3 separate regions of the Homo sapiens genome follow, and regions 2 and 3 are each linked to region 1. The links are contacts of gene promoters, found by promoter capture Hi-C in human tissues and cell types (Jung and others, 2019). All regions are on one chromosome and are shown on one strand. Each heading gives the region's core, a stretch centred on a gene start or on the middle of the fragment in contact. The rest is flanking DNA. Distances are from core to core; before and after follow the strand shown.

The links. Contacts are between HindIII fragments. The study calls those that stand out against the background at their distance.
Region 2: a fragment that was not itself captured here is called in contact with the fragment with the promoter of COL9A2 in region 1 in 1 of the 25 tissues and cell types used here (IMR-90 fibroblasts).
Region 3: a fragment that was not itself captured here is called in contact with the fragment with the promoter of COL9A2 in region 1 in 1 of the 25 tissues and cell types used here (aorta).

The regions. Positions count from the first base shown.
Region 1 is chr1:40,315,308-40,318,968 of GRCh38, reverse strand. COL9A2 (collagen type IX alpha 2 chain) reads left to right here and starts at 1,683. Exons shown (of 32, transcript NM_001852.4): 1 at 1,683-1,846; 2 at 3,305-3,379. The coding sequence starts at 1,772. RefSeq lists enhancers at 1,552-2,188, 2,189-2,825, 3,609-3,661 and silencers at 1,999-2,508, 3,269-3,368, 3,379-3,438. The HindIII fragment of the contact is 32,999 bases long and covers 1-3,661 here.
Region 2 is chr1:40,089,943-40,093,603 of GRCh38, reverse strand. It overlaps PPT1 (palmitoyl-protein thioesterase 1), which reads left to right. Exons shown (of 9, transcript NM_000310.4): 2 at 1,097-1,206; 3 at 1,432-1,559; 4 at 2,205-2,275. Among named protein-coding and RNA genes, the nearest start is that of PPT1, 5.5 kb to the left of the region's middle. The HindIII fragment of the contact is 4,299 bases long and covers 1-3,661 here.
Region 3 is chr1:40,179,344-40,183,004 of GRCh38, reverse strand. The region is part of intron 1 of RLF (RLF zinc finger); the gene reads right to left. Among named protein-coding and RNA genes, the nearest start is that of RLF, 20 kb to the right of the region's middle. The HindIII fragment of the contact is 8,457 bases long and covers 1-3,661 here.

The sequences.
Region 1 (3,661 bases), core at 434-2,933:
CCTCCTCCTCTTGCTCTCATCTTCCAACAAACTTCAAATTCTTCTTCACTCTGTTAGGCAGAGCAATTACATTCTCTCAAGCTCTTTCTCCCAAACTCAGCTCCAGGACAACCTTTCAAAATCCAGAGCCCTTTGCTAACCTGCCCAATGGAGTTGGACTTTTCTAGCTTCAACTAGGTTCATCATTTTAGCTGATCTGCCTGTGGCCAGCTTCCCCACATTGGATGCCAACCTAGTAAAACAGTCATCCATAAATCATAAGGAAAGCTAAAATGTATCAAGCACCTACTATGTGCTGGTTCGAGGTTAAATGCCTCGCATGAGTCATCTCATTCAATTTCCACAAAAACCCTTTAAGATAAGGACAATTTGCTGGGCACGGTGGCTCATGCCTGTAATCCCAACACTTTGGGAGGCTGAGGCAGGCAGATCACCTGAAGTCAGGAGTTCAAGAGCAGTCTGGCCAACATGGCGAAACCCCATCTCTACTAAAAATATAAAAATTAGCCAGGCATTGTGGCTCATGCCTGTAATTCCAGCTACTCGAGAGGCTGAGGCAGGGGAATCATTTGAACCCGCGAGGCGAGGTTGCAGTTAGCTGACATCGTGCCACTGCACTCCAGAGCCTTTTAAGACTCTGTCTTAAAAAAAAAATATATATATATATATATATGGACTATTAGTATCCCCATTTTACAGATGAGGAAAATGAGACTTCATAGAGTTTGGGGTGCCTGTGGTCATATCTATAATTGTGAAAAAGTCAGATTCCAAAGCATTTTACCAATATTGCCTAAGTGAGTGGGAGGGAAGGGAAGGCTCTCTGGAGTCGGGCTATGCTGGACAGCGGGGTTCGGAAACTCTGGTGAATAAAGTGGTAGTTGTTTCTATGAACATGGAGTGAGAAGGCCCAATCCTAAACACACCAGTGCTTAAGGCAGCTGCAGAGAATTAAAGGCAATAGAAAAAGGGGAGCTGGATGGCAGGAGCTTGGATGGGGAAGACTTCAAGGGCAGGTGAAGATGCCAACAGCTTCCTGCCTGGAGGACCGAAGAAGGGTTGGGCTTCACTGCAGACCTCCAGGAGACAGATTTGCTTGTTGGGACAGAGTAGGGAGGTGAAAGCGAGGTGAGGAAGTTCGGGGGTGGGGGAGGTGCACACAGCTCCACTAAAGAGCTGGAAGAGGCCGATGGAGTATTCATGAGACGGCTGATCCAGGAAGGACTGTGGCATATTAATATGGAAAAGGCCTGTTTGTTTGTGCTTGGAGAGGAAGGAGCCAGAGGAGAGGGGAGCAAGGTGGGCGGGAGCTGGGGAGAGCCTGCAGCAAGATCTGCAGAGCCCGAGGTGCTCTCGGCCTGGGCCCTGGAGAGGACGTAGGGTAAGTGATGGGGCACAGGCTGTGCGTCAGGGGGAAGGTGCTGGGGCCTGAAGGTCCCGAGGGGAACCTCAGACGGCCTTATGCCTTCTCACAAAGAAACTGGACCATCATCTCCGACCCGCACCCCGGTCGCCCCTCGAGGACAGAGGGTGGGCGCAGGAGGCTGGACCGAGCGGGGCGGAGCTGGATGCCTGGCGCCGGCCTCCCTCCCGGCAACCCCGCCGGTCCTCTCAGGTGACAGCTCACGCCGGCCCCCGCCCCGCCCCCCGCATATTCAGGAGCCCCAGCCCACCCTGCCCGCGAACAGCCAGCGCTGGAGGAGCGCCGGGAGACTCTGCCGTCGGTGCGTGCGCGGACACGCACCCGTCCCCCTTGGTCTCGCCGCCAGCCATGGCCGCCGCTACGGCCTCCCCCCGCAGCCTCCTTGTTCTCCTCCAGGTGGTAGTGCTCGCTCTGGCGCAGATTGTAAGTTTCGCAGCCCCTCCGCTGCCAGGGTCCAGGGTGCGGGGTCTGGAGTCCGGGATGGAGGAGCTCTGCCTGTGTCCCGCGCCTACTGACACCCCTAGCCCGAGAGGCCACCTGAGGACAGCGCCGCGGGCAGGTCCCCTCGGTGGGTGCATACATGGTGCCCATCGCGGCACCGTGAATGGAGGTGGCTGAGCCGGAGAGTCAAACGGGACCCGTCCCCAGACGCGCGGCCCGGCCCGGGACAGGCAGCGTGGGGCAGGAGCTGGCGCCCGGTCCTGGCAGCCCGGGGAGCCCAGGTGGCGGGGCATACAATGGTGCTCATTCACCCGCTGCGCAGCCTCCGCCCCCGCCGCCTCCCAGGGGGCGCCGGCTCCAACCAGACGCCGCTGTCGCCCCGAGGCGGCCTCTCGGCCCTGCCCGCCTACCCACGTCTCCCTTCCGAGGGCCGCCGGGGGCTGCGGGCGCGCGGGTAGGGCAGAGACTGGGCCCGGTCGGGTGCTGGGTGTGGTTTCGAGCTCGCCTGCGGGGCGCCAGCCTGGCACTTCGCGGCCTGGGGAGGTCGTGGGCACCGGGACCCCTGCCTGGGTCCGAGCTGGCCTCTTAAAAGGGCCGCCTTTTAAGATCTCTGATCTGTTCAGAGATGGGCAGCAGGATGGAGACTCTCCAGCTGTGAGCTCGCCTCATCTTGATATGACTTGTGACCTCCCTGAAACCTCACACCCACCCAGGGGCATTGAATTGCAGGCAAACGGGATCCAGAGAGAGGGTCTGCTTTCTGGGAGGTGCCGGCTCCTCCTGCTCCCCTGCAGCAGTCAGGGCTTAGCAGAGGGAGGACCGGGCAGCTGTGCTGCCGAAGGGGCGCTCCGAGTGGGAAGATAGTACCCGCTTCACCTCCCTACACCTCCTTTCTCTGCGCCTCCCCCACTTTCCCGTCGGGTTTTCCCGCACCATGGGGAGAGGAGGAGGCGCTGTCTCTGCCTGTCGTTCACGTAAGAACAACAACCCGAGCCACCGCTCACTGAGGGCCGGCAGCCTGCTAGGCACAACCTTACATTCCATCTGTGATTTATTTGAGCTGTCCACGTCTCCATCTATTCCCCACCGCGACCGCGCAAGGGCAAACTGGCACAGTGGAAGGAGTCGGGCAGATCCAGGGCGGACTCCTGGCGCCGCCGCCCACTCTCAGTGACCATGGACCCTTCACGTTCTGAGCCAGTTTCTTCGACTGCAAACTGGGGCCCGTAATAGCGCCCGCCTCCCGGTTCTGAGTATTCTGTAAGATAATGAATGCATGTAATGGCACACAGTGCCTGCTATACAGAAGATTCTCAATACGTGGGAGTTCGCGGAAGAGCTGCGCCCCTAGGACCCCGCTCCCAGGGTCGCTTGCAGCCCCGGGGACGCCCAGCTTCCTGCACTGTCTGAGGACTGCCCCACCCCGTGTGTGTTTTTCAGAGAGGTCCACCGGGAGAGCGGGGCCCCCCGGGTCCCCCGGGACCGCCGGGAGTGCCTGGATCCGACGGCATCGACGTAAGTCTCTAACCTGAGACCAGGGCGGGAGGGAGGCGGCAGACAAAGGAGAACTTTGTGAGCGCTGTGGTGGGGGTGGGGACTTCGGGGTGCCCGGAGATGTAGTGCCCCTCGTCGCCAATAGGCGGCGCCGGCCCGCACCACAAGGACGCCGTTTGTTCTGCAAAAACCTCAAACCAGCCCTGACATGCGGAGCCCGTTATAGCCGCCGACAGACAAGGAGCTGCTGTTCAGTCCGCCGGCCGCAGCTCACAGCGAGGCCTCATCCCCCTCCTCTCCTTT
Region 2 (3,661 bases), core at 345-2,844, 230 kb after region 1:
CTGTATGGACTTTTGAAGCTTGTTATTACTTGATAAACAGGAGCTAAGCAAAAAATGTTCTTTCTTCTGTTTTTTAAAATTGAGGTAAAAATTCATGTAAAGTTAACCATTTAAAATGGTACGATTCAGTGGCATTTAGTGTATTTGCAATGTTGTGCAACTAACACTTCTTTTTCAACACCCCAGAAAAACACACATAGCCATTAAGCAATCACTCCCTATTGCCCCCTCCTACTACTTCTTGATAATCTCCAGCTTAGTTTTCTGTATCTCAGTGGATTTGCCTGTTCTTTATTTATCCTATGAAAGGAATCATGCATTATGTGGCTTTTTGAGTCTGGCTTCTTTCACTTAGTATAATGTTTCTGAGGTTCATTCAAGTTGTAACATGTGTCAGCACTTTGTTCCTTTTTTATAACTCAGTAATATTCCATTGTGTGAATATACCACATTTTATTCATTCATTCATTGATGGACTGCTGGATTGTTTCTCCCTTTTGACTATTACAAACACTGCTGCTGTTAACATCTATATGCAAGTTTCTGCATGGACGTGTGTTTTTATTTCTTTGGGGTGTATAACTAGGAGTTGAATTGCTGAGTCATTTAGTAATCGTATGTTTAACTTTTTGAGAAACCACCAAACTGTTTTTCACAGTGGCTGCTTATTACATTCCCACCAGCAATGTCCAAGGGGTCCCATTTTTCTACATCGTTGACAATACTTGTTATTTTCTATTAAAAAATTATTATTAAAGACATCCTAGTCTGTGTGAAATGGTATCTCATCGTGGTTTTGGTTTGCATTTCACATGCCAGTGGTTAGCCATTTGTATATCTTCTTTGGAAAAATATCTGTTTAATTTCTTTTCCCATTTTTAAATTAGGTTATCTTTTTGTTGAGTTGTAAGTGAGTTATAGATTCCTTGTATATTCTGGATATTAAGCCCTTATCAGATAACTGTTTTGCAAATATTTTCTTCCATTCTATACATTGTTTTCACATCCTTGATAATGCTGTTTGAGGCCTCAGAGTTTTTAAACAATAAACAATATTTGGACTCATGAGTTTCCATCATTGTGTTTTGTTGGCTAGGAGACAGCTGTTGCAATCCCTTAAGCATGGGTGCTATTAAAAAAATGGTGGAGAAGAAAATACCTGGAATTTACGTCTTATCTTTAGAGATTGGGAAGACCCTGATGGAGGTAAGGCGCTTCACAGCTGTTCCTTTGAAGGGTTGCTGACTGATTTCATAGCATATACTGTTAAAATGCTTTGCCTTGTGTTTTCAGCAGCAGATCATACAGTGATACTTTCACCCTTGAGTGGCTCATGTGAGGATACCAACCTAAATGAGTTTACCTCTTAGAGAAGATGTCAGTGGTTGTTTTCAGTCCCATCCTCTCACTTCTCTCTGGCTTCTTTTTTAGGACGTGGAGAACAGCTTCTTCTTGAATGTCAATTCCCAAGTAACAACAGTGTGTCAGGCACTTGCTAAGGATCCTAAATTGCAGCAAGGCTACAATGCTATGGGATTCTCCCAGGGAGGCCAATTTCTGTACGTTCCTTTTTGTTATATTGTACCACTTATATGGAATTGATTTTTGTTTCTTTTATTCAGATAAATCCACTCCTCCAATTCAAGATTGTCACCTATCTTGGAAGGGAAATTTCCTAAAATGTTCCTGTGTAAGAAGCTTTATGGAACTTAATTTCTTTTCTTTTTTTTTTTTTTTTGAGACAGAATTTCTCTCTTGTTGCCCAGGCTGGAGTGCAGTGGCGCGATCTCAGCTCACTGCAACCTCCACGTCCCAGGTTCAAGTGATTCTCCTGCCTCAGCCTCCCGAGTAGCTGGGACTATAGGTGCTCACCACCACACCTAGCTAATTTTTTGTATTTTTAGTAGAGATGGGGTTTTACCATGTTGTCTAGGCTGGTCTCGAACTCCTGACCTCAGGTAGTCCACCCACCTCAGCCTCCCAAAGTGCTGAGATTACAGGTGTGAGCCACCATGCCTGGCTGGAGCTTAATTTATTTTCTATGAAAGTTGAAAGAAATATTTGCATTTGCCCATATCAGGAAAATCCTGAAACTCTGCGGGTTTGGGGAGTCACAGAGGATGACTAGCTTAATCTGTGATGCTGATTGTGGATGATACATTTCCATCTGACAGTCGGAGCTAAAACTCCCTTTTATTCCGTAGGAGGGCAGTGGCTCAGAGATGCCCTTCACCTCCCATGATCAATCTGATCTCGGTTGGGGGACAACATCAAGGTAACTTTGCCTCTTTGCTTTCTTTTTTCTGTATTCTAACCCACATGACCACCTGATTTAAAAAAAAATCTAGGAACTATATTTGCACAAGACATCAGCCATTCTTGCAAAATCCTGTTTCTCTAGCTTTTAACAAACTAGCCAGCATTGCTGGAGACATAGGAAGAGACTTAGGATTCCAGAGGCCTGGATCACTAGGTTGGCATCTACTTCTCTCCAATTTCATTGACACGATTGCATGGAAGTAAGATGGTTATAGCCACGTGGCAGGTGGTGGTTGAGGAGTTAGGAAAATTGAGTGACCTTTTCTGTTCTCTGATTTGGTGGTATCCTCTTGAATTTAGGCTTAGGCAAAGAATAGTGTGTAAGCTCTTGTGTCTATAAATTTAAACTCTTTGAGAAACAGCAGGTTTTCTATTTTGACGGAATTCCATACTATTGGGGAAGGATGTGTCATTAGAATGGAATTTCATCTCTGTTGTTGATGGGTATAGCTATTAGCTGGTATAATGTGGGAGCAGAATGATTCTCCGTGTAATCAGGAAACCTGGACTCACCCAATTAACTATTACTCCTAGGCAAGTAATTTGGTATCTTAGGTTCCACTCACAGATGGAAGAAACCAAAATATGGCCCTGCCTGTCCTATGGGAATTTTTCAGAGGATAAAGTGAAATAATAGGTAGGAAAATACTTTTTAAAAGTATAAGGATTATACAAACGTAAGTTGGTAAAAACAGCTTTATTATTCATTCATTTAACAAATATTTATTGAAAACCTATTATATGCCAGGAACAAGACAGACAAGGTTCTTGCATTCATGAAATATATATATATACACACACACATGTGCACATATATGCACATACATACATAGACATATATATACACATATGCACCTATATACACACATACATAGACATATATAGACATATATATACACACATATGCACTTATATACACATATATACACACACACATATATATATATACACGATAAAATGGAGGATAGCTGGGCACATGGTGGTGTACACCTGTAGTCCCTGCTACTTGGGAGGCTGAGGCTGGAGGATCATTTGAAGCCAGGAGTTCAAGACACTGTGGTGTGCTGTAATTGTGCCTGTGAATAGCCATTGCACTTTAGTCTAGGCAACATAGCAAGACCCAATCTCTTGGAAAAAAACAACAGGATACTGTTCGAAGGACACACTAGTGGTTGTAGTGCTTAAAGGAGTGGGCTCTGGGGCCAAACTGCCTGTGTCTGAATCCTGGCTTATACCTTATTGTCTAACCTTGGACAAGGTATTTAACCTCATTTTTACAGTTTTCTATCTGTGATATAGGGCAAATAATGAAATCTACTCCACAGGGTGGTTGTGAGGATTA
Region 3 (3,661 bases), core at 296-2,795, 140 kb after region 1:
ATGGAGGTTTGCCATCAAGAGACTAAGCTGAGAGTGAGATGAAATGAAATGGGGAGAGAACAGCTGGCTGCTTACAACCAGAAAGTTAAGTGGCTAGAGTAAATTAAACCCCCTAAGTCTTTAACATATGCTGCCACTATGCCCCCTGCCTCATTTTCTATATTGGTTATAGGTGGTTTTCTTAAAGCCAGTGATATGACTAACTTATTACTCTATCTATCTATCTATCTATCTATCTATCTATCTATCTACCTATCTATCTGTCTATACTTTTTTCATCCATCCTGATTAAACTTCACTGGATTCAGTCCATCAATCTCAGCCTACTAAGATTATTTTTAGATACCGATTCTGCCACAGGATTTAACTATGCTTTCTAGTTTTATTTCATTTTCAATTTTCAAAAATGCCTTTTACTGTCTTGTCATAAAAGTAACATAACATTGTTACATACATATGCAAAAATAAAAATTTAATAACCCATAATACCACCACCCAGAAACAGACCACTATTAACAGGCAATACATTAAGCTTGAGGGGTTTTCCTTTACTTTTCTTTTCTTTTTTTTTAGAGACGGAGTCTCCCTCTGTCACCAGGCTGGAGTGCAGTGGCGCAATCTGCGCTCACTGCAACCTCCCCCTCCCAGGTTCAAGAGACTCTCCTGCCTCAGCCTCCTAAGTAGCTGGGATTACAGGCGCCCGCCACCATGCCTGGCTAATTTTTTGTATTTTTAGTAGAGACGGGGGTTTCACCATGTTGGCCAGGATGGTCTCGATCTCTTGACCTCGTGATCTGCTCACCTCGGGCTCCCAAAGTGCTGGAATTACAGGCATGAGCCACCATGCCGGCCGCTTGAGGGTTTTTTTAAATGCCTAAACCGAACATTTTAATAGAATCATGCTATAACGTCTTTCCATTTATTGTAAAGTTTTCTTCAATGTCAGTGTTTTTATGGCTGCACAACTTTGTGTGGATACAATTTATTACCCAATTATTTATTTATGGACATAATGTCTTCTAACTTTGCAGTATTATATATAAAATATTAAGATGAACACCCCTCTAACACTAAAATGAGCACCCCTTATCTAACTTTTCCCATGTATCCATGACAATTTTCTTATAATAATGTCCTATAAATGGAATTGCTGGGTGGATAATTTTTAAGGCTTTACACAGTGTCAAATTCTGCTCCGGAAAATTTGTTCCAATGTACATTCCTATTATTGGTGTTACAGGGTGACAGACTGAGGAGCTGTAACAATTATTAGATATTATAATTTTAATATAACTTGTGAGGATCAGCTTAATAGAAGAAATACTTTGTTTATTCAATTTACATTCTTTTAATCACTGTTGCAGTTCAAGAAAATTTTTCATATATTCCTTTAATAATCTAAACACCTAATTACTACAGAGTTATCCATAAAAGACACACAGAACAATGGAATCTAACAGAAAGCCAAGAAATAAATCCTTGTATATGTGGTCAAATGAAAATGATTTTCACCTAGGATGCCAAGACCATTCAAAGGGAAAAAGACAGCATTTTCTTTTCTTTTCTTTTCTTTTTGAGATGGAGTCTCGCTCTGCTGCCCAGGCTGGAGTGCGGTGGTGCCATCTCGGCTCAATGCAACCTCCACCTCCCAGGTTCAAGCGATTCTCCTGTCTCGTTCTCCCAAGTACCTGGGACTACAGGCATGAGCCACCACACCTGGCTAATTTTTGTATTTTTAGTAGAGATGGGGTTTCGCCATATTGGCCAGGCTGGTCTCAAACTCCTGACCTCAAGTAATCCATCCACCTTGGCCTCCCAAAGTGCTGGGATTACAGGCATGAGCCACTGCAGCTGGCCAAAGACAGCCTTTTCATTCAACAATGTTAGGAAAACCAAATATTCACATACAATAGACTGAAGCTGGACCTTACCTTACACCATATACATAAACCAACTTGAAATGGATCAAAGATCTAAACATATGAACTAAAATGATAAAACTTCAGGAGAAAACATAGATAAATAGCTTCATTACATTGGATTTGGCAACTATTTTTTGACTATGATACCAAAAGCACAAGCAACACAAAAATATATAAACTGGACTTCATCAAAATTAAAAACTTCTGTGCATCAAAGGACACTATCAAGAGAGTAAAAAGGAAACCCATAAAATGGGAGAAAATACAGCAAATCTTATATCTGTTGATGGATTAATATCTAAACACATAAAGACCTCCTAAAACTCAACAACACAAAACAAACAAGCCAATTAAAAATTGGGCAGAAGACTTGAAAAGACATTTCTCCAAGGAAGACATACAAATGGCCAATAAGCACATGAAAAGATATGAAACACCACTAATTAGGGAAATCCAAATGAAAACCACAATGAGATACGACTTCGCACCCATTAGGATTGACTATCATGTAAAATAAAAGAGGTCAGACCAAGTGGCTCACACCTGTAATCTCAGCACGTTGGGAAGCCAAGGCAGGTTGATCACTTGTGGTCAGGAGTTCGAGACCAGCCTGGCCAACATGGTGAAACCCTGTCTCTACTGAAAAAAATACAAAAATTAGCTAGGCGTGGTGGCGGGCGCCTATAATCCCAGCCACTCAGGAGGCTGAGGCAGGAGAATCACTTGATTCCAGGAGGCAGAGGTTACAATGAGTCAAGATCATGTGACTGCACTCCAGCCTGGGTGACAAAGCAAGACCCTGTCTCAAAAAAAAGAAAAGAAAAGTAAAGAACAGAAAAAGTGTTAGCAAGGGTGTGGAGAAATAGGAACCCCTGTGCATTGCTGGTAGAAATGTAAAATGCTGCAGTGGTTTGGAAAATGGTATGGTGGTTCCTCCAAAAATTAAACAGAAATACCATATGATCCAACAATTTCATTTCAGTGTACACATCCCAAAGAAGTGACAGCAGATCTTGAAGAGGTATTTGTACACGCGTGTTCACAGCAGCATTATTTACAATAGCCAAAAGGAGGAAGAAATCCAAGTGTTCATGAACAGATGAACAAAAGTGATATATCCATAAAATGGAGTATTATTCAGTCTTAAAGGGGAAGAAAATTCTGACATGATACAACATGATATATCTTGAGGACACTATATTAAGTGAAATATGGCAGTCACAACAAGACAAATACTGTACAATTTCACTTATATGAGGTACCTAAGAGTAGTCAAATTCATAGAGACAGATAGTAGAATGATGGTTGCCAGAAGGTGAAGAAAAAAGGGAATGGGGAGTTAGTATTTAATGGGTACATACTTTCACTTTGGGAAGATGACAAAGTTCTGGAGATGGATGGATGGATGGAGGTAATGGTTGCACAACAATGTGAATGTACTTAATGCCACTAAGTTGTACTCTCAAAAATGGTTAAGATGGCAAATTCTATGTTACGTATACTTTACCACAATAAAAGTACCAAAAAAAAAAAAAAGAGTTAACTTTAAGTCTAGAGACTTTGGATTAGAAATTTTCAAGAAACTGAAGTGGATGATCATGCAAAAGGAAGACGACGGGGGCTGGGGGCAGGGAGGATAAATTCAAACCATCCTCCATTTCTGCATTAGCGAGCCATTATTACTAAAAGGACTGACTTACAATACTTCTTAAATCTGGAGATTGTAAAGTTCAAACTTT